4 separate regions of the Homo sapiens genome follow, and regions 2, 3 and 4 are each linked to region 1. Evidence: promoter capture Hi-C in 16 types of primary human blood cells and fetal thymus (Javierre and others, 2016). All regions are on one chromosome and are shown on one strand. The core of a region is centred on a gene start or on the middle of the fragment in contact, and the rest is flanking DNA. Distances in the headings are between cores, read along the strand shown. Region 1 holds the start of IL21-AS1 (IL21 antisense RNA 1). Region 2 overlaps AFG2A (AAA ATPase AFG2A). Region 3 overlaps AFG2A (AAA ATPase AFG2A). Region 4 overlaps BLTP1 (bridge-like lipid transfer protein family member 1).

Region 1 (7,140 bases), core at 2,122-4,621:
AGATATTCCATAATAAAAAGATTACAGTCAACTTCAGAGCAAATCAAGTGAAAACTCCAATTTATGTTGGCTACGTAACAGTCTAGAATAAAGTATGGTATTCTAAAGTATGTAATGAAATGAATGAATGAATGAATGAATGAATAAAATCTATAGTCAAGAGTTTCACTTATAAGACCTATGGTCTTATATAGTACATGACTCTCTAGCTAGAATATTATATTCAACTTTCTCAAATGGGTTAAAAGAGTCTCAGGGACAAGAGAAGCAGAAGAAAGGAGGATGATAAAACCATTTCTGGGCTTTGGATCTTTAATTAACCTCTACCCGGTCACAGATGCAGTTAGAAATGTGTTGCTCACACCCAGAGGAAATAGTATCTAACAGAAATAAGTAACACTACCCTAAGAGAAAACGAATCATTTATGGGTATATTTTATTTTGCTGTTTGGAAACATTTTTTGGTTTGGACAAGAATGAGCATTAGCAAGTTTGACTCATTTAATTGATGTATTATATAGAAGAGATGGACATTAGATAATTTTTAAAATGATGGTAGAGTGAGATCTTGATTGGGAAGGATAGATTTTCTATCAACTCCCTTAGAATCATTTGTGATATTAATAAATCAGATTGTTAAATAACATGACAGAAGCCAAAATAAATGCTTAGTAAAGATGCTTTGGTGAACAGTTGGAAGCAAATTCTATTTTAAACCCTTGAAACTTGGTAAGAACCTAAAATATTCTTGCTAATTTGGAAAATACCTCTTTATTTAAAATTTCCTAAAAGGTAGCCTCTCCTCCTACTTTTATGATGGAATACTGGATGATTTTAGTCAAAAGACATAGTTATTACCATAAGAAAAAGTCCTGCATGAAAGCACATGTTGCCATCTTACTCATTATCAAAGTGCCCTTATGACTGTCAGAGAGAACAGGTAAGATGCCAGGGGAGGCCGAGAAAAAGAGATCAAAGTGTTTTTGTTTACTTTTTTGAAGTCTTGTAGTACCTACTGTTTATTATACATACTTCTTGATTCATGCTGAAAATTGGAATTCACCCATTCTCTCTTTTTCCTGTCAAAGATGCAGATGGGGCACATTTCGTTGACTCCATCAATCCCTGCCCCCACACATTAGCACATGCACACGTATACCTAGCCAGTGGAAAAGAAAAAAGAGTTACTCACATTCATCCATTTTACAAAGATTTCCAGGCTGCAATGGGAGGGCTTTACCTCTCCCTGAAGGATGAATAAATAGGTAGCTTAACTGACAACCTGTTCTCAGTCAAGCTGAAGTGAAAACGAGACCAAGGTCTAGCTCTACTGTTGGTACTTATGAGATCCAGTCCTGGCAACATGGAGAGGATTGTCATCTGTCTGATGGTCATCTTCTTGGGGACACTGGTCCACAAATCAAGCTCCCAAGGTCAAGATCGCCACATGATTAGAATGCGTCAACTTATAGATATTGTTGATCAGCTGAAAAATTATGTGAATGACTTGGTAAGACTATATTTGTCACAACAAAATCTAAATCATACTTTTCAATTAATATAAAAGGAGGGTTTGGCTTATAAAAATAACTCAGAACAAATTTTCTTTTGCTCTAGGTCCCTGAATTTCTGCCAGCTCCAGAAGATGTAGAGGTAAGACCAGTTGAATTTATTTCTGAAAATACATTGGACATAAGTTTTTAAATCCAATAAGAAAGACATTAGCATGATTATATAGGAGTATACTGAATTTTAATGAACTTAGCGGTCTAATAATTGATGAAATATTTATTTATATTTTGGTTAAATTCATTGATTTACCAAAAACCAACTAAAAAATGCTATATTATATTCCTCATAAACTATGTTTATCTTCAAGAATCTCTAAGAGTACTCCTAAGTAGTATTGCTGAGACAGAATAACAAAACTAGAAACGAAATCTATACTCTGATCAGTTTCTGAACAATGCACAGCTAGTTACTCTTTAAGAGCCCTTGGGCATGAAAGCTTTTGAGCCTTCTTTGTTATCCTACCGAAGAAACATAGATACATACAGTAGGAAGCAGAATTAACCTTTTAATAACAAACTTAAAAAAGAAAGAAAGAAAGAATTAGATTACAGGGACAGCATGGAGAAATGGTGGTGTGGAAATCAAAGCTGTCCTTCAGAATATAATTCACATATACCTTGGCCTCAGTGAGTCTTGTCTTTGGCCTTCCGTGAGGTCTTTTGAAAGAACCATTTTCAACAATTCATCCCGTCTCTTAAGCCATTTAAATCCATTAGAGTTCCAGGAAGAAGAGGCCTGGCATGTAGTTCAAGAGTGCTGTCCGCTGATCTTTTTCTCCAGTAACTTCTACGATCTGATCTTCTGGTCTGGTACCCTGAGAGTATAAATGCAATTGGGGAAATGTTTTCATTGTCACAGACCTTTAATTGCATAAATTAGAATAACTAAAAGTGCTACCAGTAATTAGGACACTACAAAGGGGGAGACTTAAGAAGATACATTGCAAAGAAAACAATTATCGTAAATGACTATGTGTAAAAGTTTAGAAAGTGAATGAGTCACAACTATTGCTTTTCTCTAAAATTCACTCTCTAGCTCTGAACCCAAACACTCTCATTTACTAGGTCCTTTTCTAATAAGCAGCATCTAAAATGAAAGTAGCACATTCAGCTTATTGGAAAGACTTTTCCAATAACTGAAAATACTTCTTAATCAATGTGCCTAATTATCAAAACATACATTTCTAGCATCTCATGCACCTTGTTTAACTGTTATGGTTAGAGTTCTTTCCAGAGTTTCCTGGCTGTAGTCTATAACTTGCAAAATAAGAAATAAGAAAGAGATTCCACCTTCTAACCTGAGTTGGTCCAGTGGGTACTTCCTTTACGTGTGTTGTTAATGAAAGATATTTTTTATCTTACATCATAATGAAAGGATTTTGTCTCCGTGATACTGTATCTATCTGATAATCTGATCAAGCAATGCTGGCTATGATATAAGTGAGTAATAGTGTAACTTGGATCTTTAAGCTATACTAGTAGGCAAACTCAGGAAGAAAGAAATCGTTCAAGGTCACATTAGCATTATATCAAGCTAGCTTCAAAGTAGGGTCTGTAAGAGATTTTAAAAGATTTAAAAGTTTAATGAAAATAAAACTATCTAATGTTGCATGCATATAGTAATTATCTAAGATCTCTAATTGGCCTAGCCAGGCATCTTTCTTTTTCTCTTTTTCTTTCCGTCTAATCATATAACCAGTGGTTCTCAACCGGTGGTGATTTTTGTGCCCCAGAAAACATTTGGCATTGGCTGGAAAAATTTCTGGTTGTCACACTTGGAGGTAGAATGGGGGTGCTACTGGCATCTAGTAGGTAGAAGCCAGGTACTAAACATTCTAGAATGCACAAGACAGCCCTGACAACAAAGAATTATCTAGCCCCAAATGTCAGTGGTATCACCGTTGAGAAACCCTGATATAAACCTAGTTTGTGTGTAGGACAAAGGTAATCCTTTTTTTTTTTTTTTTTTTTTTTTTTTGAGACGGAGTCTCGATATGTTGCTAGGCTGGAGTGCAGTGGTGCGATCTCAGCTCACTGCAACCTCTGCCTCCCAGGTTCAAGCGATTCTCCTGCCTCAGCCTCCCGAGTAGCTGGGACTACAGGCGCACGCCACCACACCCAGCTAATTTTTGTATTTTTTAGTAGAGACGGGGTTTCACCATGTTGGCCAGGATGGTCTCAATCTCTTGACCCCGTGATCCACCTGCCTTGGCCTCCCAAAGTGCTGGGATGACAGGCGTGAGCCACTGCACCCAGCCAGGACAAAGGTAGTCTTGCCCAATTAGCAAGACTTCTTAGTGTGAATGGCCAGGGCTTTCTTTGCAAAAGGAAAAAAATGTAAAAATAGGCCTCAGCTGGGTGAAGTGGCTCCTGCCTGTAATCCCAATGCCTGTAATCCTTTTGGGAAGCCAAGTTTGGAGGATTGCTTGAGGTCAAGAGTTTGAGAACAACCTGGGCAAAATAGTGAGACATCCTGTTTCTACAAAAGAAAAAAAAAAAAGCCCTAAGGAGGTAAAAAATTTCAAAAATTCAATTGCAAAACAACAAAGCCAAGTGTGACTCCTGGCAAAAGCAGCACTTGACTTGTTCTTCAGCTGAAGAGGAATGGTTTGTTAATTCTTGCGTTTGACTTTACTACCGCTCCTTCTAGTCTGCAAAACAATGTAGCAGCAGAAAACTCCTCATGTTCTCATATGTTAAAGCATGAGGGAAACAAAGTCTTGCCTTTGGAGTCTGTTGTCACCAAGGCATAGCAAAGGAAAGCAATGTTCATGCTTCCAGACAGTGCTAAATATGGAGTTGGCATCCTGTAGACTCCTGAGTGATAGGGCACCTGAGGCTGCCTAAATCAAGGTTAATCTTTTCACTCTCCTTCTCAATACATCCTTAAGGCAGTTTAGTGGCGACAGCCCTCTACTTCTTTTCCTCTTTTGAGGCTGCCTTTGATGTGCATATAAAGCCAATTCCCGCAGTTATTTATCCTGGACCACATATTGCCAGACACAGCTCTGCTGCTTGCAGAACAGAAGAAAACAAAACCCCATTGTCTGTTAACAGAGGTAAACAAGGAAGGGTGGGAGAGGAAGCACAGCCCCATCAATATGGGCGTCAGTGTCCAGGTACCATTCAAAGGCTTTCAGAAAAGATTTTCAGTTGTTTTTACAACTGAAATTGTAGTTTTACAATTTCAGTGCTTTGAGTACCGGTACTGACCATTCCTGGCAATATTATCTCAAGGGAGTTCATTTGGCTGGCAGGGCCCCTCTACTTCTTTGGAACCTAATTTTCTTTCAGCATACACATGTAAATGTTAACTCAGCAAAATGAGCCTCTGTGAGAAATGCTGGTTTTTCAGATCATCACGGATGAAGCAGTCAGTATTTTCAGTTTCAGCTGGAAAATTTACCTCTTTAAATATGAATATTATTTTTTCCAGTAAGTTAAGCCGGTTGTGGTCAAAAAGAAGAGAAAAGAAAAAACTTCAACAAACATGAACGTGTGGTTTTCAAGGAAAAAAAAGTGCTATATTGAACATTTATAAATAGTTTCTATTAAATAAGCATTTTGGCAAACATATGGAAAGGACACCACCTTGCCCTTATGAGAGGCAATCTGCCTTGATATAAGGAAACCAGATAAGCTGCTTCTCGGCTTGTGGCTATATATGCAAAGCAAACCTGATAGGTTTGTGTCTTAGAGATGCATATTATTAATCTACATTCATATTGGGTAAGCATATGGGTTGGAAAATGCAAAGCAGGCCAGATGCTGTGTTCAGCTGATTGTCCATAAGAAGATTCAGGTAATATTGTTACGTATAGGCCTGCCTTTGTAGGGACTGGGAGGGATTGAGGCTTCTGGTTATAAGGTAGTAGCTTCCATATGCATAGTGAAATGAAAATATAGCAACTTCAGGGGGAAAATAGCATCACATACACACGTTTGCTGAAAGAAAAAAGTAAGTTGGATACAAGTCACCTGGATATAAGCTTTTGGATCAGCATTAAAATTTTTCAACAAGTCAGTATATGTTTGGTTTTTCCAGTAAATTCCATTTCCTTTCCAGTTTGATGGCTAAGCTTTTGGCTTGTTAGTCATTAGCTATTTTTCCAAACCAAGAGATAAGTGTTTGATGCTTATTTTATCCGCTCCTCCATTCTCTGAGACCCTATTCTTACCTTCTAAGAAATGACTTTCCGTCTCATTGGTTGGACAAGCCTCAAACTGTTCCTCAACTGCTTGATTCAGGCAGAATCCTAACCCTAACTGAGCTGGGAGTATGAAAAGGGTTTTAGAAAAGTCATGTGTGATCTATGGCAAGTATATTGAATCTTAGATGTAAAATATGCTATCAGAGGGAGGTACCCACTTCCTTTCTCCAAAGGAGGGGCTTTAATTCATTTTCTTCATCTGTTAACTTTACAAATATATGTTGATCATTAACTGGCAAGACACTATGCCTGGCGCTGTACAGAATAAAATGCTGCTCAAGACATGTCATGATAGATACATTAACAGAAACCACAAACAAATGAAAAATGTTCTTCATCAGACTATAACATAATTTACCCAAAGCTGCCACTAGTCACAGTGTAAGTTTTAGAGCCTCATAACTCAGCAAATGTGTCCTAAACCGAACTAACTCTCCTTTATAAAACACAAAGGTCTTGTCCACCACCCAGACATCAAAATGGTCCTCTGTGTAGCATCAGGAATAAAGCATTGTGAAGAAGTGAGGCTCCTTTCTCTCTTATCTGCGAAGCAGGGGATTGTCCCTTTTTCCCATCCCAAAGATTAAGTAGGAGGTGAAATCATACCTCACTCATCTGTTGAAACGATGTAATGCACGACATTGCAGAAGAGATAGAAATAGAGGATTGGGAAAGCTATCTTTTACTTTCTGAATAATGTTTGTTAACATATATACAAATTGTTTATCTTTCAGACAAACTGTGAGTGGTCAGCTTTTTCCTGCTTTCAGAAGGCCCAACTAAAGTCAGCAAATACAGGAAACAATGAAAGGATAATCAATGTATCAATTAAAAAGCTGAAGAGGAAACCACCTTCCACAAATGCAGGGAGAAGACAGAAACACAGACTAGTAAGATTGTCATTTGTCATCTCTCTTATTTGTACTTATAAACTATATATCTTGCATTACATAAACATACACACACACCTGTAGCCAGGGCTGCTGGTGTCTTCCTTACCTATAGTTATGCCTTATTATACATGGTGCTTTTTTTTTTTTTTTTAAGACAGAGTCTCACTCTGTCACCCAGGCTGGAGTGCAGTGGCGTGATCTCTGCTCACCGCAAGATCCACCTCCCGGTTTCACGCCATTCTCCTCCTACCTCAGCCTCCTGAGTACCTGGGACTACAGGTGCCCGCCACCATGCCCGGCTAATTTTGTTTTTGTATTTTTAGTAAAGACAGGGTTTCACCATGTTAGCCAGGATGGTCTCGATCTCCTGACCCCGTGATCCGCCCGCCTTGGCCTCCCAAAGTGTGGGGATTACAGGCATGAGCCACCGCACCCGGCCTATACGTGGTGCATTTTAAGAAGTAG
Region 2 (7,140 bases), core at 3,189-5,688, 330 kb before region 1:
ATCAACTGATGCTCTCCTTACTTTATCAACTGATGCTCTCCTTAGTATCATACGCTAAAATTAAATTATAAAGTCTTATACCCCTCTAAACAAGATCCACCTTTTATTAGTTTTAATTAAGAGCATGAAGTTGAAGTAAGATGACCTTGGCTTTAAATCCCAGCTCTGCTGGATACTCGCTCTGAGGCCTTTCTTGAGTCTGTCTGATACTTCTATCACAGGGTTGGTAGGAGGATTCAATCAAATAATGTTTTCCTTTTCTCACTTTCTCACTGTAGAACTCCTACTCTAAGCTTCTTCTTAGATGTCATTTTTTCTATTTAACCACAGTATTTGCTTTCCTCACAGAAGTCACTACATTTTTACATTTTTATGAGTAGTTTATCATTATATTTGTAGTTGTTTACAAATCTCTTTCCTTCATCAGACAGTGTATTTCTGGACAGCAAAAATTCCAGAGCCTTCTAGAGTGCATAAAATGTATTAGAAAGTCAAAAAGTCTCTAGTAAGGCATGCTGAACATGGCAAGTCCTACAGAGCAACACCTACACAGCAATCCAGACTCTTCATTACCACCTTATGCAATGAAAGAAGCAAAGCTATCTACTGATACTTCTGCTTTTTGATCCCTAGGTAATCCATTTCTACGACCAGGCCCACTAATCCCTGTGACGCTAGAAGCAGCTTCACAGAAACTAGACAGAGTGAGACCCAGTCCTAGAGCAAAATGTACCAAAAGAATGTTTGTATTTGCCTTGATAGTCTACATAACCTGCAGTCTCTCCCAACTGTGATTCCTATAACCTAGAAATTGTGGTAATGATCAAATAAAATGAAAGAAAAACGATTTTCTCCACCAACAGTAAGATATTCAAAGATTCCTAAATATCTCTTCCAAGTTTTCTTTTCCTAACTGTTTTTCCTTCTTGAGCCTCTTTCCCTACATATATCAGTCCAGATAAAAGGTCAAAAAGACTAAAGGCAGGGTCTTCAAAGCCTACTAAATTAGACAACTATGAGTCAATGATTTGGAGGTAAAAGTTATTGCATTTGTATTTCTGAACTAAAGCTCTAAAATAACTGCAATGGTTTGAATGTCCCTTCCACAACTCATGTTGAAATTTAATTGATATTTTTATTGTATTAAGAGGTAGGACCACTGGGAGGCGATTAGGCCATGAGACCGTAACAACATTAATCCTCAGGAATGGATTAATGCCATTACGGTGGGAGTGGGTGTATGGCAAATGCACCTGAGAGCAATAACTTAAGAAAGGAGGGTTGCCACGTGAAGGCTGCTGCACGGAGGGTGCCAAATAAAAGTGCTATATAAGCTGCATGCTTTTTGCAAGCAGTTGAGGTTCTCCTGTCTAGTCCACCACCACTGGACTGTCCCTGTATGTTAGTTCTCCCTAATAAAACCCTATGTCTTGTTTGCTAGCTCCAGGTCTCTTTTGCCTCTTGAACCTGGTGCCATCCTTACAGAAGTTAACACGGACTCAGTACCACAACTGGTGAACCCAGCAGGAAGGTGGAGAAAAATTTCATGAGCACCGAGACCGTAAGATCAGGAAAGGGGAAATCCAAGGGGGGGTCCCGGGCTGACCATCACATTTATGTGGTGCCCAAAAGCCACTATCCTTGATGGATGGGACCCAATGTATGAGTACAGAACACCCCAAAAACACCGAAGGGTCTGGAAGAGCTGTTGCAGGGGGTGGATCTAACTAAGCAAAAGTTAGATGCCTGAGCTGTGGCAGCCACAATGGCTGGCCATTCTTGACTGTGCTCCCAGCAGCCACTGAGGCTGAGCTCCCAGCACAGGCCAGGGGTTGTCTGTTATAGGAAGAACTATGAGTAGAAAGAGATGCCAGACTAGCTCAACCTAAAACATCAGAGACCCTACTGTCCTACCTGCAGAAACAGGATGACAAAATGGAAATCCCAGCTTGTCAGGTAGCCTGTTTGAAGGGTCGCCAGCTCCCATGCCAAGTTAGGACTATATGACTAAATCTTCCTAAGTCCAGGGACCCAGTGGAGAGCTCTAGTGAGGAGCAGAGTGAGGACTGGGATAAGCCCATAGAGGTCCTGTTCTCTCTACCAAGATAAAGTCAGACCAATGGTGCCTGCAGGGAGTAGACCCACAAAACTTGTCTCTGCCTGAAAGATGGTAGCATACCACAATGCAGCACTACACCACTATGGAACTAGTGGAGCTGGGCAGAAGGTGGGTTCAGGAAGAGAGACAGTTGATTGAGAGGTGGCTTCTCTGTCTATGGGACACGGGGATGGAGGGTGTTATACTCTCCAGACTCAAGATGAGTGGAATGGCATACATCGCATGCCACCCAGCCCTGAGGCAGCACCTCTATGGTGCCAACAATGAGGATCAGGCCATGCCCCTCCTTAGCTGGGTGGTTGTGGGCTGCAATGAAGCGTGGCCAGATGAGGGCAGTATCCCCATATCTCCTTTGTGATGGCAGACTATGGAGGAATTGCAGGACATCATCTGGAAATTAGGGATGAAACATGCTATCTATGCTGAACATCACCAAGGTCCAACAAAGAGCTTTTCACTGCCAACATGAAAGACACCATCTTAGTCTGCACTCAACCAATGGTATGGTGTGCTAGTGTCTACCCAGAGCCCCCTAGTAGGACAGCCAGTGTCTCAGGTGGCCCAAGCAGCCACCAACTTATGAGAAATGGAGAAACTGCATAGGCAAAGGGTACGTGCTGCTGGGATGAAAGACAAGGGCGCCAAAGGAAAGGAGATGGCCAAGGGGCCCATCAGGGTGACTGACCAACAAATGTGGCACAACCTGGTAGTGGCAGGAACAGCTACTATGAAAACAGATAAACAGCCTAATGCTGTTCTGGTCAGACTGTGGCAGAAGCTCACACCAGAAGAGTGCTTCACTAAGGAGCCTCAGGTTCAGCCCGCCACCCTTCCTGCAGAGGGATAGCAAGTGTCAACCCTGTTAGACTGGATGAAAGCCAAGGCCCCAGAACCCTGATAAGAGTAATGGTGGCCAGGGTACCTGGGGACCAGAGGCCACATGTAGAACTAACTATATATTGGTCGCCTAAGAATAAACACACTGTGCGTGCCCTAGTGGATACTAGAGCCAAATGCACTTTCATATATGGTGACATTCGTTGGTTCCAAGGGGCTAAAATGGCAAAAGATGGTTATGGATGGGGATCAGAAAGGTTGAACTGTCTGAGTATTACAAGTTGAGAGACTGCCACCAAAACCCTATTTAGTATGTATAGCTCCCATCTTGGAATACATCTTGAGAATGGATATCTTATCAGGCTTGACCCTCCAAACAACTGCTGGGGAGTTCTGACTGAGAGTGGTGAAGCATGTGACCAAGGGGAATGCGAAATGGACACCAGTCTAGTTGCCAACCCCACACAGCAAGTAGTAGCACTGAGGCAATACTGCCTGCTGGGGGGACATAATGAAACCACAGGGATTGTTAAGGAGTTAGCCCAAGGAGGCATTACAAGGCCAGTGCACAGCCCATACAACAGCCATGTACGGCCCATGTGGAAGCCTGATGGGACATGGACAATGACACTAGATTACTGGGAATTAAGTAAGGCAGTCCCCCCAATGTATGCACATGTTCCCAATATCACCTCCCTTCTAAAGAGGGCGGGAGAGGCACTGGACACATACCACTACCACTCTGTTACTGATTTAACCAATGCCTTCTTCAGCATCCCCATTGCCGCAGAGAGTCAAGACCAATTTGCATTCACCTGGGAAGAACAATAGACTTTTACCATCTTGCCCCAGGGATATTTATATAGCCATGGAGGTCCTGGAAGGGGTACACATTTTCCATTACAGTGATGATATCGTGCTAACTTCTGAGTCTTTTTCCAGCTTTCAAACTGCGCCCTCACACCTTGCTGCCTCATCTGGCAAACAGGATGAGCTATAAACACAGACAAAAATCCAGAGTCCAGGCTTATCAGCCAAATACTTGAGTCTGCCATTATGGATAGGGTGCAGGCCTACTCACATCGTGTGACACCAAAGCAGCTATAAATCTTCTTAGGACTCCTAGGGTATGGGCATCATTTTATTCCTCATTTGGCCCAACTCCTTAGACCCCTATACTGTTTAGTCAAGAAGGGGGCCCACTGAGACTAATCCACGAAGAAGGATGAGGCCTTTGAACCAGCTGAAGTCACAGTGAAATAAATACAAGCCTTGTGAGTTCAGGTGCAGAGACAGCCTGTGAACTAGATGTAGCCAGTTACCTTGAGGGGTTTGGGTGAGGCCCGTGGCAAAGGCAGAGACATACATATGCGCCTTTAGGATTCTGGTCCCAGCTACGGAAAAAGGGTGCAGTTAGATACAGTGTGATGGAACAACAACTCTGTGCTATACATTATGCCTTACAACAAGTAGAGGACATTACAAAAGGGGTCCTGATGCTAGTATGCAGCCAGTACCCCAAAGCAGGTTGGCTAAAGGGTATCTTCCAGAAACTGAAGTCTGGGAATGCCCAGACACAGACTGTGGCCAAATGGCTTACATACCTGCAACAAAGGAGCACATTAATAGCCCCTTGAGCTCAGAGCTCCATTCAGTGCTTGGCCCTGTCATCTATGTAACAACTGTCACATAGTCTTTTAGGGAGGCTGCTGAGCCTCCACAGATGCTCTCCTTCATACAGGATAGACAGGGCCCAATGTCTGACCGCCCAATGACTGACCAGGCCTGGTACACAAACAGCTTGTCACGAGGCAATCCTTGCACTTGAGCAGGCATAGCCATCCAGCCATCCACTGACAGGATCTGGATTGATGATACAGGCCAAGGACATAGCAGCCAATGAGCTGAGCTGCAAGCTGCCAGGATGGTCCTCCTCTATAAGCCAGACCCAGCAGTCCTGTGTACTCACAGGTGGGCTGTCTGAAGTTAACAGGCATCCGGCATGACATTCCTTAAGGAAAATTGTGATTCTCCAGTACACATTTCTCCCTGATTTCCACAGCACGATATATCAATAAATATTGTCTTCATCAATACTGCCAACAATGCATCTGATTACATGTGTGTGCGTGCGTGTGTGTGTGTGTGTGTGTGTGTGTACTTTGGAAAAGTCTGATAGGATACAGTCATCCCTTAGTATCTATGGGGTATCGGTTCCAGGACCCCTAAGATACCAAAATCTAAGGACAGCTCAAGCCTCTTATATAAAATGGCACAGTATTTGCATGTAGCCTATGTACATCCTCCCATATAATTTAAATAATCTCTAGATTACTTTTACCTAATCCAATGTAAAGGGACTCACCATGTGGCTACTACAATGGGAAGCACAGGACTAGACAGTAGCAGGTCACCTCCTTTGGTGCCCTGACATGTAGAAGGACATTCCCCATTGCATCTGGGGGATGCATAAAATGATCTACCATGTGGATCCCCACACTGCATCTACACCAACCTGGAAATCAACAGGCAGACAAATTAACCTGCATTCGTCTCCTCAAGGGAGTCCCCACAGACGATGTGGTCAACTGGTTACAAAAGAAGACAGGACATAGGGGACAACTTACCCTTTGGGCCATAGCAAAGAATTGGAGCCTGCCACTATGATACAAAGACACAGTACACATCTGTCAGCAATGTCTTACCCGTGCACAGGAACACCCCAGGCCCTTGCCACCTGATACCAGAAAGATCACCCAGGGCCAGAGCCCAGCACAATGGTGGCAGGTAGACTACATAGGATCTTTGCCCCTATTGGATGGCTGCCACTATGCCTTAACTTGTGCAGAAACCTGCACAGGGCTACAACGAGCATAACCCAGCAAGCATGCCACCATAAAAGGACCAGAACAGATGTGTGCAGCCTACAGCGTCTCCATCAATAGTGACAATGGGCCAGACACAGTGGCTCACGCCTGTAATCCCACCACTTTGGGAGGCTGAGGCGGGTGGATCACCTGAGGTCAGGAGTTTGAGACCAGCCTGCCCAACATAGTGAAACCTGTCTCTACTAAAAATACAAAAAATTAGCCAGGTGTGGTGGTACACACCTGTAATCCCAGCTACTCAGGAGGCTGAGGCAGGAGAATTGCTTGAACTCAGGAGGCGGAGGTTGCAGTGAGCCGAGATCGCGCCATTGCGCTCCAGTCTGGGCAACAAGAGCGAAACTCCATCTCAAAAAAAAAAAAAAAATTAACAATGACTAGGGCTCGTACTTTACCAGATATAAAGTACAAGAATAGGCAGAGGCCCTGGATATCCACTGGCATTTTCACCTGCCGTACAACCCTACAGCAGTGGGGCTGACTGAACAAATTGAATGGACTGTTGAAACAACTCCTATAGGAGTTGGCTCTGTGGACACGCTGCTTACCAGCAGCCGTGCACAAACTGAATAAATATGCACATTCTCATCACCCCATCATGTATACTCTTCTAACACAAGGATGTGATACGACCATCAGGATACAGGTAGACAGGGTAAGGGACAGCAGACCTTTGCCCCCAACCTGGGACACAAAGTAATCTGCTATGGCCCTTGCCACAGGACCAACCTACTGGGGAGCACATCATTACGTGGTTCTGGGAAATGGCAAACCAGCCCGATGGTTCAGTTTTTCTGCTCCATGGGGGAAGGGCCTAGAACAGGATATATATGTCACACCTATTTCATACCATACTCTCCACTGTAATTCTAAAATAATGAATCCTAGTCCTCCCTTGTGCAAGGGGATGAACATCCTCTCATGAAACACTATACCTCCACTGTCTTCCTCTGGCCTCCTGCAACACATTACAGAGGGGAGCCAGTCCATTTGGTATTGTAAACCAGGCATCAGGCTGCTGCCAGGGGTGGTGCTCTCTCAGAATGACACAACTCCCCATGTCTTGTTAAATGGCCAGGACTTGTCCTTTCTTGTACCCACTAAACAACTCACCTTTTGCCCATAGATGGTGTGCCGCAAACCTCTTTGCTGACTGGGTGCAGATGGTTATCTCTCTCCAGAAGAAAACAGACTGCTGGGTCTGCGGAGAGCTCCCCCTCTCCTCCGCTGTGGGCCTGCCATGCCACACCAAGGCAGTTAACATGAGTACCTGGGGCCACTTCGATACTTGGTATAGTG
Region 3 (7,140 bases), core at 2,854-5,353, 310 kb before region 1:
AGCCCAGGAGTTCAAGACCAGCCTGGCCAACATAGCAAGACCCTGTTGCTAGAAAAAAAAATACAAAAATTAGCTGGGCATGGTGGTGCTCACCTATAGTTCCAGCTACTTGGGAGGCTACAGGGGGAGGATCACTTGAGCTCAGGGAATTTAGATTTCAATGTTACACTGTAATGAGTATTAGGATATTGGTCTATAACTTGGTCAAACATAACGTCACTCATAATATGGCTATGTCTCTACCACTGTTTTGATTTTGCTTGTTTGTTTGTTTTTGAGACGGGGTGTGTGTTGCCCAGGCTAGAGTGCAGCAGTGAAATCATGGCTCACTACAGCCTTGATCTCCCAGCTCAGTGATCCTCCTGCCTCAGCTTCCTTAGTAGGTGGGACTACAGGCATGTGCTACCATGCCCAACTAATTATTTTTATTTTTATTTTTTCGAGTCAAAGTCTCGCTCTTGTCCCCCATGCTGGAGTGCAATGGCACGATCTCAACTGACTGCAACCTCCACCTCCTGGGTTCAAGAGATTCTCTTGCCTCAGCCTCCCGAGTAGCTGGGATTACAAGCACTTGCCACCACACCTGGCTAATTTTTGTATTTTTAGTAGAGACGGGGTTTCACTATGTTAGCCAGGCTGGTCTCAAACTCCTGACCTCAGGTGATCTGCCTGCCTCGGTCTCCCAAAGTGCTGGGATTACAGGCGTGAGCCACCGCACCCAGCCAATTATTTTTATTTTTAAACAGACAGGGTCCCACTATGTTGCCCAGGCTGGTCTCAAACTCCTGGGGTCAAGCAATCCTCCTGCCTTGGCCTCCCAAAGTGATGGTATTACAGGCATGAGCCACCACACCCAGCCAGAGTCATTATTTAATGGGCAAAAGATTTGTCCCTTTGAAGCAAAGTATAACATAACAAAGTTCTAGTATAAAGAGCTACATACAATAATACAGTCTACTAGAAAAGCTAAGCATATTAGAAACACCTAAGCACCTAAAGAAAGTCATGGATTTCTATGCTCAAACAAGGTCACATGACTTATCAAACACTATGTCTTAATTCTTCTACTTTATGTAATTTAATAATATTTATCAAACTTTTAAAGATTAGATAGAAATAGAATTTCATTAGATCTATAATCTACTTCTACCACTATCACTATAATTTTTGTACTACTGTTTATGCTTTGTATAAGGTGCTAGTATCTCACTTTGACTAATACAGCCTTGATTATTAATTCCAAAACATTTAAAAATAAAGAGTACCGTAGAGTGGCTTCAGCAAATATCTGACGTAACTTTGCTTCAGTCTCACCATAGAATCTGTAACAAATAAAATACATTTAAAGACCATTTCTTATTGTTTTTAAAGCTTTGTCTATAAAAGCTAACCTAAATTTTCAATATTTCTATAATACTTAAAATTACTTTCAAAAAGAATTTTCCAAACAATTTTTATTAAGAAGCAAAATATTTCAGTGTACAAAATATCACACAGAATACTACACAATCATTTTTAAAAACCACATTTTAGAAATATATTTAATAGTAAGTTTACTCTATTAAATCATGTACTTACTTGCTTATAATTTCAGGACCATTAATTACAGAAACATAGGCTCCAACTTCATTAGCAACAGCCCTGGCGATCATTGTTTTTCCAGTACCTGGAGGACCATAAAGTAACACTCCTCTAGGGGCAGGAATTCCTGGAAGAAAAAGTAGAAAACACTAGATTCACCATTACTAGGTTTCTTATAAATGTTGTCATACAAGTTCAAACATGAGTTATAAAATTTAACTTTACCTTGCGTCACAAAAAGAGTCAAGAGTTTTTTCTCCCCCTCCAGAAAGATGTACTAACTAGCCCAAACACTGATACCCAGCAATGACTTTCTCTCTCTGTAGACCACAGAACAGAGGAAGCATGTTGGTTAAAAAAAAAAAAAACTGGACACCCACATTGTTGCAACGCCCCATCCCACACAACACAGATCAATGATCGAAAAACCAAGCACAGACAACACAGGTAGACAAGCCACCAATCCCAGTTTTTTTCCAACTAACCATCTTGAAGAGTACATACGTTTGCTAGTATAAAAGGTACATAAGTATGAGCAAAATGCCAATCTAAGGGTTCATTTTACACATACATATATATACATACATGTATGTATATATAAGATTTATGAGAAAGGAAAAAAGCAGAGAGATCAGACACAGCAAATATATGCAAAGGATCTTGGCAATAACAATGCAGCAGAAGCCCTGAGTTTCCTGAGTCAAGCCATTCCCGTAATTACCTGCTTCAGTGCAAAGAGATGGGTACACAGTTACATTTCCTAAGAAGTTTTACCTAATGTATTTGAATGGTTTATCCCTTCAGTCATTACAGATGACCCAGCATGACAAGATACTTATTCTAGATCCAATACAGGTAATTGTGGAAATATGCTATTAGAAGAGACAAGGCTGTCACTAATTCACATTACAACCTAAAAATACCAAAGCATAGCAAATGGCCCATTTAACTGGCATCTCCCAAAGCAACTGAAATCTTCTACCATACCTACTACTCAGAAAATAAAAACAGGAAAAGAGGATGAGCAATCATTACATAAGTGTCAACTGTCTTTTAATTTGAATTTAACATTTTTGGGTGCAATAAACTGAAGACATCATACCATAACTCTTGAAAAGCTCAGGCTGTTTGAGGGGCAATTCAATTATTTCTCTAATTGCTTTCAGCTGGCTACTTAATCCTCCTATCATGTCATAAGTTACTTTGAATTGGTTGTCTTGCTCTTTTGAATTTTTATCAATCTCTGTAAAATTGACTCTTGTTGTTGAAGAAATAAAATAAAAAGTATCAGTATTGCACTTTGCTCCTATGCTGAACTTTAGCAGTCTCTCTTCTTCAGTAAGTTGCTCATTTCCTTCTCTGGCAGATTCAAAATTACATTTAAGACCTGTGACTTCCTCTAGCATAAGTCCACTGCCATCTCCAGGGCTCTGTGTAACATCCAGCAAAACATCACTGGCTTTATTTGTAATTCTGTCATCAATTGGTTTATAAGGAGTACTTCTTGATGTTGGGATCTGGGTATCCTCCAGATCTAACTGGCTTAGCTGTAAGGATAACTCCAGGCTACTGGTTTCCATGCTGGACTGTTCAAAGGCCATTCTTTGGGCATCAGTGTCAGAGTCACTCTGAGGCCCTCCCAATATCATGCCATCTGCCCCTTTCACTCGCAATACTTGCAGCTTGTACGGTCGTCCATAGAATGTACAATACAGAAAGTTGCCTGGTAAAACAATCTTGCCATCTAGAAAACAGTATATTAAATATACATGTTAGCATAATTTTTTTTACCAGTTTAATGTTTAAATAGCAATATATTTCATCTATTATCTGAAAAGACTAAATCAAAGACAGAGTATTAATAAAATAATTGTCATAAAAAATTGAGGACCTAATATTCCCCTATAACACCATCTGGAGACAGAAGGAAATGATTCTCTGAAATCCTCCACACTCAGTAGATCTCAGATTCTATCAATCACATCAACAAATAGCCAGGCATTCCATATTCAATAATAAACTAAATGAAAATGGCACACCCAAACCAACACTCCAAGATAGCATCTGTCACTGGAAAGGGCAAGAATGCAAAGGTTAAAAGTCTCAATTCTACCACTGACTCTTTCCACAGACAAGTCATATATTCTTTCCACTGCTCAACTGCCAATTAACCAGGAAAAGTAGCACATCCCTATCTTAAAAGTATATTCATTCATTGAGGGGAATATTCTCAAAGCTATTTTGAAGAAAACTACTATGCATATATAAGCCCTCAAAGACACTTTATTTGCTGATGCCTTGCAGCTTAAAACTTAAGAAAACAATTTAAAATATTTGTCTCACCTAGTTTTCTCAGGATACAACCAGTCAGTTCTTCTTCATTAATTTCCATATCTTTGTCACTGTAAAAGGATAAGAAGGGAACAGAAATCAGCATTAGGTACACCAGAAACTAAACTGTGATGTAAAATTACATGTATATGGTTATAATATAGACTTAATCAAAAGAATAATCCACCTGCAACCTTAAAATAAATAATGTATACAATTTTGAAATGATGGGCATTTTTCAGAAACATATAGCCATGAAAATATCATTTGGAATCTGGTGCCTTAGTGGCCTAAATCAATGTTCTTCAAAACACAAGGGTAATGAAATCATTTCAGTCAGCCTCATTCAGCACTTTGTTAATAGAATAAGAAATGCAGGGTACACTGAATATAGAAAGGGTAAATACTGCTTTGTAAAACATTAACTTCTAACACATACATACACACATGCACACATATGAGCACTATTATCTATGGATGTGTATATACAAAGAATCTGATGAAAAATCCATTTTTTATTGTCATAGGCAAAAACATTTTTAAAATGCTGACCTAAACTAATAATTCCCTTTATAAAGTTGCCTAGCTTGGAGAAAGACTCTAATTAATAACTTACTTCACTCTCTCAGTATAACTTACAAATTATTTCTTCAAGAAAATTAAGTCCTATACAGTATGTTACTTGAAAAGGCAGAAGTAGGAAAAAGAGGAGTAATGGTTACAATGAAGGTTTTTTTCTGGAGAAAGGGCATGACCAAGGAAAAATGAGATCCCCTCCTTCCTAATGATAACTGTGTCACCCCAGAGAGTTGCTTAAGTGCAGGAAGTGAACACACCTAAATATCATACATTTATAAAGAAATCTGCTCTTGAGGAGTTCTCAGAACATGAGCATTTTTCCTCCTCCTCTTGTGCATAAGCAGCCCATATCAGGAGGGGAGACAAACAGCTGTCTAGTTCTGTCAGTGACCAGTGGAGGGGGGACAGTTTAGCTCAAGGGGAAGTGTAAGTGATTGGAACTGAGCATGGTGGCTCATGCCTGTAATCCCAGCACTTTGGGAGGCTGAGGTGGGTGGACCGCTTGAGCTCAGGAGTTCAAGACCAGCCTGGGCAACATGGCAAAAATTCATCTCTACAAAAAATACAAAAGAAAACTAGCCAGACGTGGTGGCATGTGCCTGTGTGCCCATCTGGTCAAAAAATACCTTGTTCTCCAATCACTTTTTTTTTTTTTTGAGATGAGGTCTCGCTCTGTCACCCAGGCTGGAGTGCGGTGGTGTGATCTCAGCTCACTGCAACCTCCACCTCACAGGCTCAAGTGATCCTCCCACCTCAGCCTCTGGAGTAGCTGGGAACACAGGCGCTCACCACCACGCTCAGCTAATTTTTATACATATATATTTTTTGTAGAGGCGGTGTTTCACCATGTTTCCCAGGCTGGTCTCGAACTCCTAAGTTCAGGCGATCCACCCACCTCAGCCTCCCAAAGTGCTGGGATTACAGGCGTGAGCCACTGCGTCTGGCTTCCAATCACTTTTATCAGTAATAATACAATATAGTCAATCCTCAATACCTGTGGATGCTGTATTTGCAAATTTACCAACTCCCAAAAACTTATGTGTACCCCAAAATCAATACTCACAGAGCATTTGTGGTCATTAGTGACATGGAAGAGCAGCAAAAAATTTGGGTGACCCAACACCCATGTTACCATGTAGGATGAGGTGACACTCTGCCTTGTTTCAGCTTTCATTCAGAGATGACCAGAGAATGGAAGTGATAGGGGACACAGCAGTGTAGTGAAGAAGCTCCAGGCCTGGGGTCAGTTGGAGGGAGTGTGAATCCCAGCACTAGCACCTCAGGCAAGTCCCTTAACATTTCTAACACTTCTAAATCTCCTCTTCTGTTTTGTAAAATAAAGAAAATAAAATCTACCAGAAAGAATTACTTTGGAGTTTTAAGGTTATAATCTATGTAAAATGTGTGTGTATGTATATATATTATATATATACATACGCTACATATATTGTGTGTGTTGCATGTATGTATATACACACACATACGTATTTCCCTCTAGGAGAAATGGTTCAGTATTTGCTAACGGTGTTCAAGGCAACTTTAATAGAACATAACTAACCACAAATAATGAGAATCAACTATATATTCATATAAAAGAGAGAACAAGAGAGAAATACAATGAGGGGGAAATTTCATGAATCAAATATATGTATAAACTAATGAGAAAATTGCATGTATCTCCTTAAATGCTTACATTTACTTTTGTTTATGGAACTCTAAACCAAGTTATACTTAAATTGCTTTTGTTAAACTCTGAATAGAAGGTATTTACAAATACATGTAAAAACAGTAAAAATATCAAACCAATTTTGCTTTTAAAAAAATAATAGTTGCACATAAAATAATTTCCACTAGAAGGAGCTCTAACATTACTATTAATAATAAAATCTTACAGTTGCAACTGAAGGATTTAAGCAGACTAAAATGACTGATTTTCCCAACTGGAAGTTAACTTTCTTGTCTATACTCTGCTGCCACATTTAAAACATAAGATTTTTTAAAACATAAGATTTTTTAAAACAAAATTTTAAAACCTGAGCTTTCATTTAAAACATATCCAGTCCTCTCTAATAAGCAATCATTACTCACCTAAGACTGCTGTGCGCTCAAGAGGTCTGACTAGTTTGTAGGTCATCATAAATGCTAATTCCAGTCAACGAATTACTGCTACCTGTAGCACCATTTTAAGACATAGTCTGAGGAATAATCCAGTTTAATCTCAACAGTACTATTAACTACCTCATAAAATATTAGGCAAGTTCTCCTCAGACTATTTCATCTGTTTAAAAAGAAAAGGGTAACTGTGTGTGTGTGTATACATACATGCAATATATACAAAGCTTCTGTATACAGCCGGTACTCAACATATTGTCTCCTGTCCCTTCTGCTTTTTATTGTTCATTAAACTGTTACTATAAGCTCTGAAAACATTCTCCTGTTATAAAGGAAAAAATATGCCAAAACTCAAGTCTAAAATCTACAATAGTAGCAAAAGAGAACATATTAAAATCAAGCTGATGACTAGAAAATGGTTTGTAATTCTCACATATAATGTAAACACATCCCCCAAACTATTACTAAGGTGACATTAAAGTATAAAAAGATGCTTTTTGTAAATGATTTTTGAGAAGACTTGTATATGCAAACCAA
Region 4 (7,140 bases), core at 1,703-4,202, 310 kb after region 1:
TTCATCAGTCTTACCTTCTCTTTTGACATGGAACATTTTATGAGAAAAAAAATGGCTGAAGGCTATGATGTCAATCTCAAGATCATGGACCTATCTCCAGAATATATCTACTTTAACTTTGAAACATTTACTACCAACTGGCTTTAATCTGGTAACTTCAGCTTCAAAAAAGATGTTAATTAAATTCAACAATTTTACATAGTAAAAGTTGAAACAACTTTTAAACAAAGTAAACTCTAAACATAGAATTAAGACCTTCCTCAGTCATCCTTAGAAGAAACTAAATATCAATTTAAACTCCAGAGTACATATATCTTTAATGTCCTTTTGTAATTCACTCTGAGAATCCTAAATTGGTATTCAAATGTTACTTAAATTTGAGCTTACTATTCATATTTTAGGTAATTTGGTATTACATTTCTGTCTTTGAAAAATTTCAAAAGGGAAAAATCTTTCCAACTTAGAAATATTACAACTTAGTTTGTGAGAGAGGATCTACTTGTTATTATGTTTTTTTAAAGACTGCCAATAAGTTTAACATCTAAATTATACCTTTGAACTGTATAGTACCTGTGTCTCACATACAAATTCTAATTAAGAAATAACTAGATTTGATTTTGGAGTATCACCCAATTCACCTTTGTAGTCATGGTTACAAATCTGAACAATAAGACCCACATTACCCTTTCAAATCCAAGAATGCTAGAATGAAAAGAAAACCCTTTGAAATCTGAATAACATAACTGAGGCCAAGTGAAAGGAAGAATTAGTAAATAAAAAGGGAGAAGAAAACTTTTAGGATTTCCTATCCCAAGGAGTAGTAGAGAATTTTTAAAAATTAAGCTTAAAGGCTAGGTGTGGTGGCTCACACCTATAATCCCAGTGCTTTGGGAGGTCAAAGCCACAAGATCACTTGAGGCTAGGAGTTCATGACCAGCCTGGGCAACATAGTGAGACTCCATCTATACAGGAAATTTAAAAATTAGCCAGGTATGGCGGCATGTGCCTGTGGTCCCAGCTACTTGGGGGGCTGAGGCGGGAGGATTGCTTGAGCTCAGTAGTTCAAGGCTGCAGTGAGCTATGATGGCACCACTGCACTCCAGCCTAGGTAACAGAGCAAGATTCTGTCTCTAAAAAGCAACAAAAACATTAAGCTTAAAAGATGAATATATAAACTCATAGAATATAGAGCCACGATGAATTAATAAGGAATATTACGATTTTTAGATGTAGATCTGAATCCTGAAAATGAGGACTAAGAAATCAACTAGTCTCTTCCCCATAATACCTGTGGTTTCTGTATCACAGACAGAATGATGACTTGGAGCAACCATTAGGCTGAATGCAGGATGGTAATTTTTCTGCTCTGATGACCAAAGGCTACCTAGGTTTTACAGAGAGCTTGCAGACATCTAAACTTCTGATGGTTTATTTTGTCTGAATACACATTCATGATATTGTCCTAATATTTACTATCTACTTAAATCGTTCTTTGAACTCTTCCTATAGACTGTCCTTGTTAATTTCTAATGCATTTCTCAATAAACATTATCACCTAGAGAAGAAATTTTACTGGGTCACTTTTTTTTTAGAGTATGTTTTAAAAATGACCTGTTAAAAAAATTCTAAGGCATAATCCTAACATTCCTTATTTCTCTGCCCTATACACATCACCTTTGTTCAAAAATATTGAGGTATACTTATTACTAATAAAAACTATAAGCTAGTAAACTAATTTGTCCATTTTATCATTTGGAAGTTTTATAAATATGTCAGTTACATAACTACTCTGCTTATCTCCTTCTGGCCCCCTCCCAAGAAACCCAAACAATAAGCATGTTACAGAAGCATGTCAGTTAGTCCCCTCTAAAACCCAAAATAAATTATTCTGAGTATCATGATTACCAGCATGTTAGTGTTCTGTATTAACAGAATATATACTGAGGTGCTAAATTATTTGTTCATTTTTTAATGCATGTTTCTGATTCTGAGTCAGAGCGTATTTCTCATTTTATATCTTATGCATTTGCCCTTTAAGATAAACTGTTAAGGAAATGGTTTACTTCCTTTTTTTCCAAATATATTCTACTTATTTTAATAAATACAATGATGGTAAAGCTGTCACCTTAATAAAAATCACTAAGTTTAAATTTATTTTTGTCTTTTATTAAAAAAACAAAAGATATGTTTTAGTGATTTTTAAAAAGCCATGTATAACTATTGTGTAAAATAATAAATCTATAAAGATTTCTGTTGTAGGCTGATACTGGTCTTTTGGATAATAGGCATGAGTATTTCCATATCAAGTCTTCTCAGTAACCTGAAGTATTTCAAATAAGTACTGGTATTTTACCTATAATTATCTAAATGCAAAGTATTTGATGGGGTTTAGTACACACTGCCTTCTAAAATGGCACCTTGTCATATGGAAGGTATTTTAAACTGAAGCAATTTGAGAAGCAGCAGATGCAGGAAGGACTTTGACTTTCTTCTGAAGTAGGTCATATGAACCACATGTGAGAGATGCCCTTCCTATACCCAGAGGAAAGGAGCATCCTCATCTCCAAAGTGGAGGGACACTGAGATGAATCTGAACAAACAGACCTTGGTTAGTTTCCCCCAGTTTACTACGCTTAACTCATACCCCTTTTTATTTTCTCACATTGCTCTACAACTCTCTACTCTTCATCAAACCTAGCATAAAAATACTCAGGTTTAACCATTTCTTTGGATCTTCATTTCCTTATGAAGGCTCCATGTCACAAAAAAACCTCATATTAAATAAACCTGTATGCTTTTCTCTCATTAATTGGTCTTTTATTACACAAGCCCCCCAGCAAATAGCCTAAAAGGGTAGTAGGAAAAGATATTTTTCCTTCCCTACACATTAAAACCAAGACTTTTTCATTTTGAATGCTAAAACTTCAATTTTTGTAAAAATAATAGAAATTTTCTCATTCCTCAAAGAAAATGGGAAGTAGAAAGATTTCCCTCTAGTGGAGAGAGGAAAAAATTACATAAACAATGGGCTACCGCTTTCTAAAAAGTAAGTAATTTAGTTTACAAGATTGAGGAATTTTAGTTCATAACCTTTTAACTCCTTATTTATAATTTTTCTTTATTATTAAGATTAATGATGCTTTACCAACTCTGCTATAATATTTAAAATATAAAAATATATACAAATAAATTCCGTATCTTCAATACGGCCTATAAACACAGCTTTAGTTATACCCAACCTTGAATATTATGGAATTGCAGGAATTCATGTTACACTCTGCACTCCTACAAATTTGAACATGTGGATTTATTCACGTCAATATTAATTAAGGCTGGCGTTCCTGGTCCTGGCTATTTACAACCTGTTCTGTGTTTTATGGTGAGTTGGATATTGCACATTTATCATTTTTTTTCAAGATTCCGACAGGTCAAAAATGCTTTATCTGGTCAAACATGGATCAATTACAGGAAAAATCAGGGACTGTGTAAACATTCAAATGTTATAGTACCAAAAAGAATGCCTGGTTGGTTTACTTACCAAAACTACTCAATGCTGTAGTTTTTCACGAATATGGTTTGTTACCTGTAACTAGAAATAGCCCTTCTTTCTCAAAGTCTAAAAACATTTGCTATATCTAAGCATCTTTTAATTTCACAAATGGAGACTTAATGTTTTATTTTTTAAGTTCTAAACTGTATATAGAAATAAAAGATACTCACAGGCATTCATCACTAAATCCCCATGAATTTCTGGTTTCCAGTCATCCCATGATGTCTCAAATCCATCAGCAAAACGGATACAAAAGTTTTTGAAATGCCCTTTGCTAACCAGAGACTCTGAAGAGCATGCAGTGATGAGAGTACTTTCAATGGTTAATACCAAAGCAGAACCAGTGTCAAGGTCTCCAGTATGATTAGACTGCAAAATATATTAAAGAAGAAATAAGACAAAAGGTGACAATTTTTTAAACTTAGAAATCCTCACAGGATTCATAGGAATAGAAATCTAGAAACGGTCAAGCCTAGATATGTTCATTAAAGAGCAGCTTAGAAAGATGCCTTTTAAAAATTAAATTGCTTAAGTGCAATGTACTTGCCATGTGCATTTTTTTTCTTACTTAACATACAAAGGGCTATCTACATTTCTATCTCAAGCCTCTCTTTTAGTTGTGGGGAGATGATCTCACTATGCCACCCACCTGTGGTGTTTATGGCCTTCCTAGGCAGTGCCCATTATGCTATTAAAAAACTACTATATTTCAGTTCCTGAAACACAAACATACCAATGCCACCCATCCTCAACCTGAAGTTTTTCTTAACACTGTCTTACCGAACAGAATCCTAAAAGATAAATTAATTCAACAACTGGTTACAAGTTATTAAGGTAAATTGTAACAGTAAAATATAGATCTCTATATGCTATTGTTAATAACTGTTGCTTCTTGGCCTGACAGGTGTTCATAGCCTTTTCTCTCTCTCATACACACATGTGCATGCAGTTACATATTCCTGAAAATTGGTCTTAAGTTGCAAAGAGAAAATTCCTGGTTTATGTGCACACTGCTTTGAAGTTTCATTACCATTAAATATTACAGTATAAAAGCATTTTGGAATTCCCTATTCTATTACAGGTTAAGTTCATTAAACAGTATTCTTAAATGTCCTTTTATTTCCATCTTATAAACAAGTCCATACCAATGACTTCCTTGTTAAAAAAGAAAACAATAAAATGATTCTGAAACTAAGCTTCTTTTTATGAAGGTAAAAATTAAGAGTTATCTGGGGGGTATCAATCTTATCACTATTCTGAAGCATATAAGAGTGCTTCAGAGAAAAGTCCCATGAGATTAAGATTTAATACATTGAGATGAGTAATGGTTGAAGGAATTCAATCTTACTTGCTACCTACTAAACAGTTATAAACTGTTACACTGAAAAATGTACTGTTATATTCTAAATACTTAGAAATGGTTATGTAGAAATGCCTGGCTCTTAATCCTGGAATATGACTTGACTTTTTGTACCTGTGCAGTATTTGTGATAGGTAGGCAAATTCCCAGATCATTGACAGTGAGCTGGAGAAAAAGAGTCCCAAAGGCCTGGGCTGATGTTTGCTGGATACCAGGTAGCATATCTACTACTTCCTTTGTAGCCATATGAATATCCTTATGTAAAGCCATTCGTTGTTCATTCCAGTTGTCATAGGCGGCCTTATAATTCAGCCAAAACAGCACAGCTTTTGATAATTAAGACAGGGCAGAAAGAAAATTAAAATCAACACTGTAAATCTATATGTTAAGTAAAACTCAAAAGCTGCAAAATCCTGTTGCTTAATAAAAATTACACCCAGAAAACTGTAGCATTAGAATTAGGAAAGATCTAAGAGGACATATAGTCACCATTTTTTAAATAACAAATGAAAAAATAAAACAGAAAGCAGGCAACCACATAATGGCACAAGGAAGAAGAAAATCCAGGTCTGTTCATTCCCTCTAACTTATTTGTGAAATGCCTATTATATGTTAGATACTGGGATGGAATAACAAATGAAAACAGACATGGTGCTTAACTTCATCTGTAGAGCTGTTACTTCTTTTAAAATTCTTTAAGGTACATAATGCTAGGAACATACCATTAAAAGGATCTGATTTACAGAGAAAAGTCAAAGATGTTTGAGTTTGTTAAACAGAAACAAACCTTAAGGAAAACCTTCATTTCACAGCAGTGTATAGATGGAGGGGCCTCTAAAAAGGACATAAAGATGGAGAGGCCAGAGAAGTAGGAGGAAAAGCAAATGCAGGTTGAGCATCCCTAATCCGAAATCCAAAATCCCAAAACTTTCTGAATGTTGATATGATGCTACAAGTGGAAAATTCCACATCTGAACTCATGTGAGACTGCAGCCAAAATGCTGTCAAAACTTTGTTTCATGCACAAAATTATTTAAAATATTTTATAAAATTATCTTCAGGCTATGTGTATATGGTGTATATGAAACATAAATAAATTTCATGTTTAAACTTGGGTCCCAGCCCCAAGATATCTCATTATGTATACACAAATATACCAAAATCTGAAAAAATCCAAAATCTGAAACACTTCCTGTCCCAATTACTTTGGAAAACCAGTACTCAACCTGTTTTGTGTCAAGGACACCAAGGGTACAAAATACTTTAAGAAGCTGATGAAAGCTGATGAGAGGTCAGTAAAATGAGAACTGAAAAACATGTACATGGGATTCAGCAAAATAAAATGCTATCTGTAACACTGCCAAAAGGGCAATTTTCTAACAGGATTCTGTTACTAGCCTATGTCCATCACTGATGAAGATCTTAAATGGCTTCTTAAATGGCTCCTCATTACTTCTAAAATACAGTTCAAATATATTTGCCCAATCCACATTAATTAGACCTTGTCTACCTGTTCAGCCTTCTTTCCCATTATTTTCTTCTATGAAACCTACTGCTATATTTTCTTAGACTTATGTGTTTAAACACATTCATTCTTATTCTCTCTTACTCAATGTTTATTTCGTTCTTATTGTATGCCAGGGACTGTTCTAGGCCCTGGGATATAAAAGTAAATTTCATTTCCTTATCTCCCTGGTGAACTCCTAATTCAAAGTCAAATCAAGAATTAGTTTCTCCTCTAAGAAGCATAGGCAAAGGTAGAGAATTCCTCAGAACCAAGAACACATCTCTGACTCCACTGTGTAGTCTACTTTGTTTTCTTTTCCACTGGACTGACAGGTCCTTGAGGGCAGGGATACTGTTGTTTATTTTTGTATTCCACTTCTAGGCAGTACCTGATAAATGTTTATAGAATATAAAAATAAACACAGTGCCAAAACACAAATGGGTGCATTAATTATCAAAACAAAAAAAATCAGCATTACAATTACATAATCTGAAGCAGACACTCTTATGTTATCCAGCCAGAAGACAAAATAACTTTAAAATGTAAAATAACTTTTAAAAACTGAAGGCAAAAAGCAAGATTTTTTTTTTGGATACACACATTTCAGATTTAGGAACCATTTAGCTGTCAAGCATTTACACCAGTAAACTACAAGATTCTTATCTAGCATTAACAAAGCATTCCTAGATCCCAGAGGATAGTAGTGATTGACTTTATCTTACC

Evidence for each region. The method cuts DNA at HindIII sites, captures the fragments that hold promoters and counts their contacts. A CHiCAGO score of 5 or more calls a contact.
Region 2: a fragment that was not itself captured here is called in contact with the fragment with the promoter of IL21-AS1 in region 1 in 1 of 17 cell types (megakaryocytes); the score reaches 5.5 in megakaryocytes.
Region 3: a fragment that was not itself captured here is called in contact with the fragment with the promoter of IL21-AS1 in region 1 in 1 of 17 cell types (megakaryocytes); the score reaches 5.9 in megakaryocytes.
Region 4: a fragment that was not itself captured here is called in contact with the fragment with the promoter of IL21-AS1 in region 1 in 1 of 17 cell types (activated CD4 T cells); the score reaches 5.3 in activated CD4 T cells.

What each region holds. Positions count from the first base shown.
Region 1 is chr4:122,615,214-122,622,353 of GRCh38, reverse strand. It overlaps IL21-AS1 (IL21 antisense RNA 1), which reads right to left and starts at 3,371. Exons shown (of 11, transcript NR_104126.1): 1 at 2,862-3,371; 2 at 2,189-2,386; 3 at 1,283-1,486; 4 at 1,033-1,159. IL21 (interleukin 21) reads left to right here and starts at 1,288. Exons shown (of 5, transcript NM_021803.4): 1 at 1,288-1,510; 2 at 1,618-1,653; 3 at 6,517-6,672. The coding sequence starts at 1,343. RefSeq lists an enhancer at 1,002-2,201. The HindIII fragment of the contact is 3,552 bases long and covers 2,011-5,562 here.
Region 2 is chr4:122,949,409-122,956,548 of GRCh38, reverse strand. All of the region lies in intron 9 of AFG2A (AAA ATPase AFG2A), which reads right to left. Among named protein-coding and RNA genes, the nearest start is that of AFG2A, 30 kb to the right of the region's middle. The HindIII fragment of the contact is 8,286 bases long and covers 296-7,140 here.
Region 3 is chr4:122,930,282-122,937,421 of GRCh38, reverse strand. It overlaps AFG2A (AAA ATPase AFG2A), which reads right to left. Exons shown (of 16, transcript NM_145207.3): 4 at 3,925-3,983; 5 at 2,684-3,325; 6 at 1,579-1,708; 7 at 1,266-1,322. Among named protein-coding and RNA genes, the nearest start is that of AFG2A, 11 kb to the right of the region's middle. The HindIII fragment of the contact is 5,459 bases long and covers 1,374-6,832 here.
Region 4 is chr4:122,306,045-122,313,184 of GRCh38, reverse strand. BLTP1 (bridge-like lipid transfer protein family member 1) reads right to left here. Exons shown (of 88, transcript NM_001384125.1): 57 at 7,140; 58 at 5,025-5,236; 59 at 3,721-3,919. Among named protein-coding and RNA genes, the nearest start is that of ADAD1, 69 kb to the left of the region's middle. RefSeq lists an enhancer at 6,874-7,140. The HindIII fragment of the contact is 3,592 bases long and covers 1,157-4,748 here.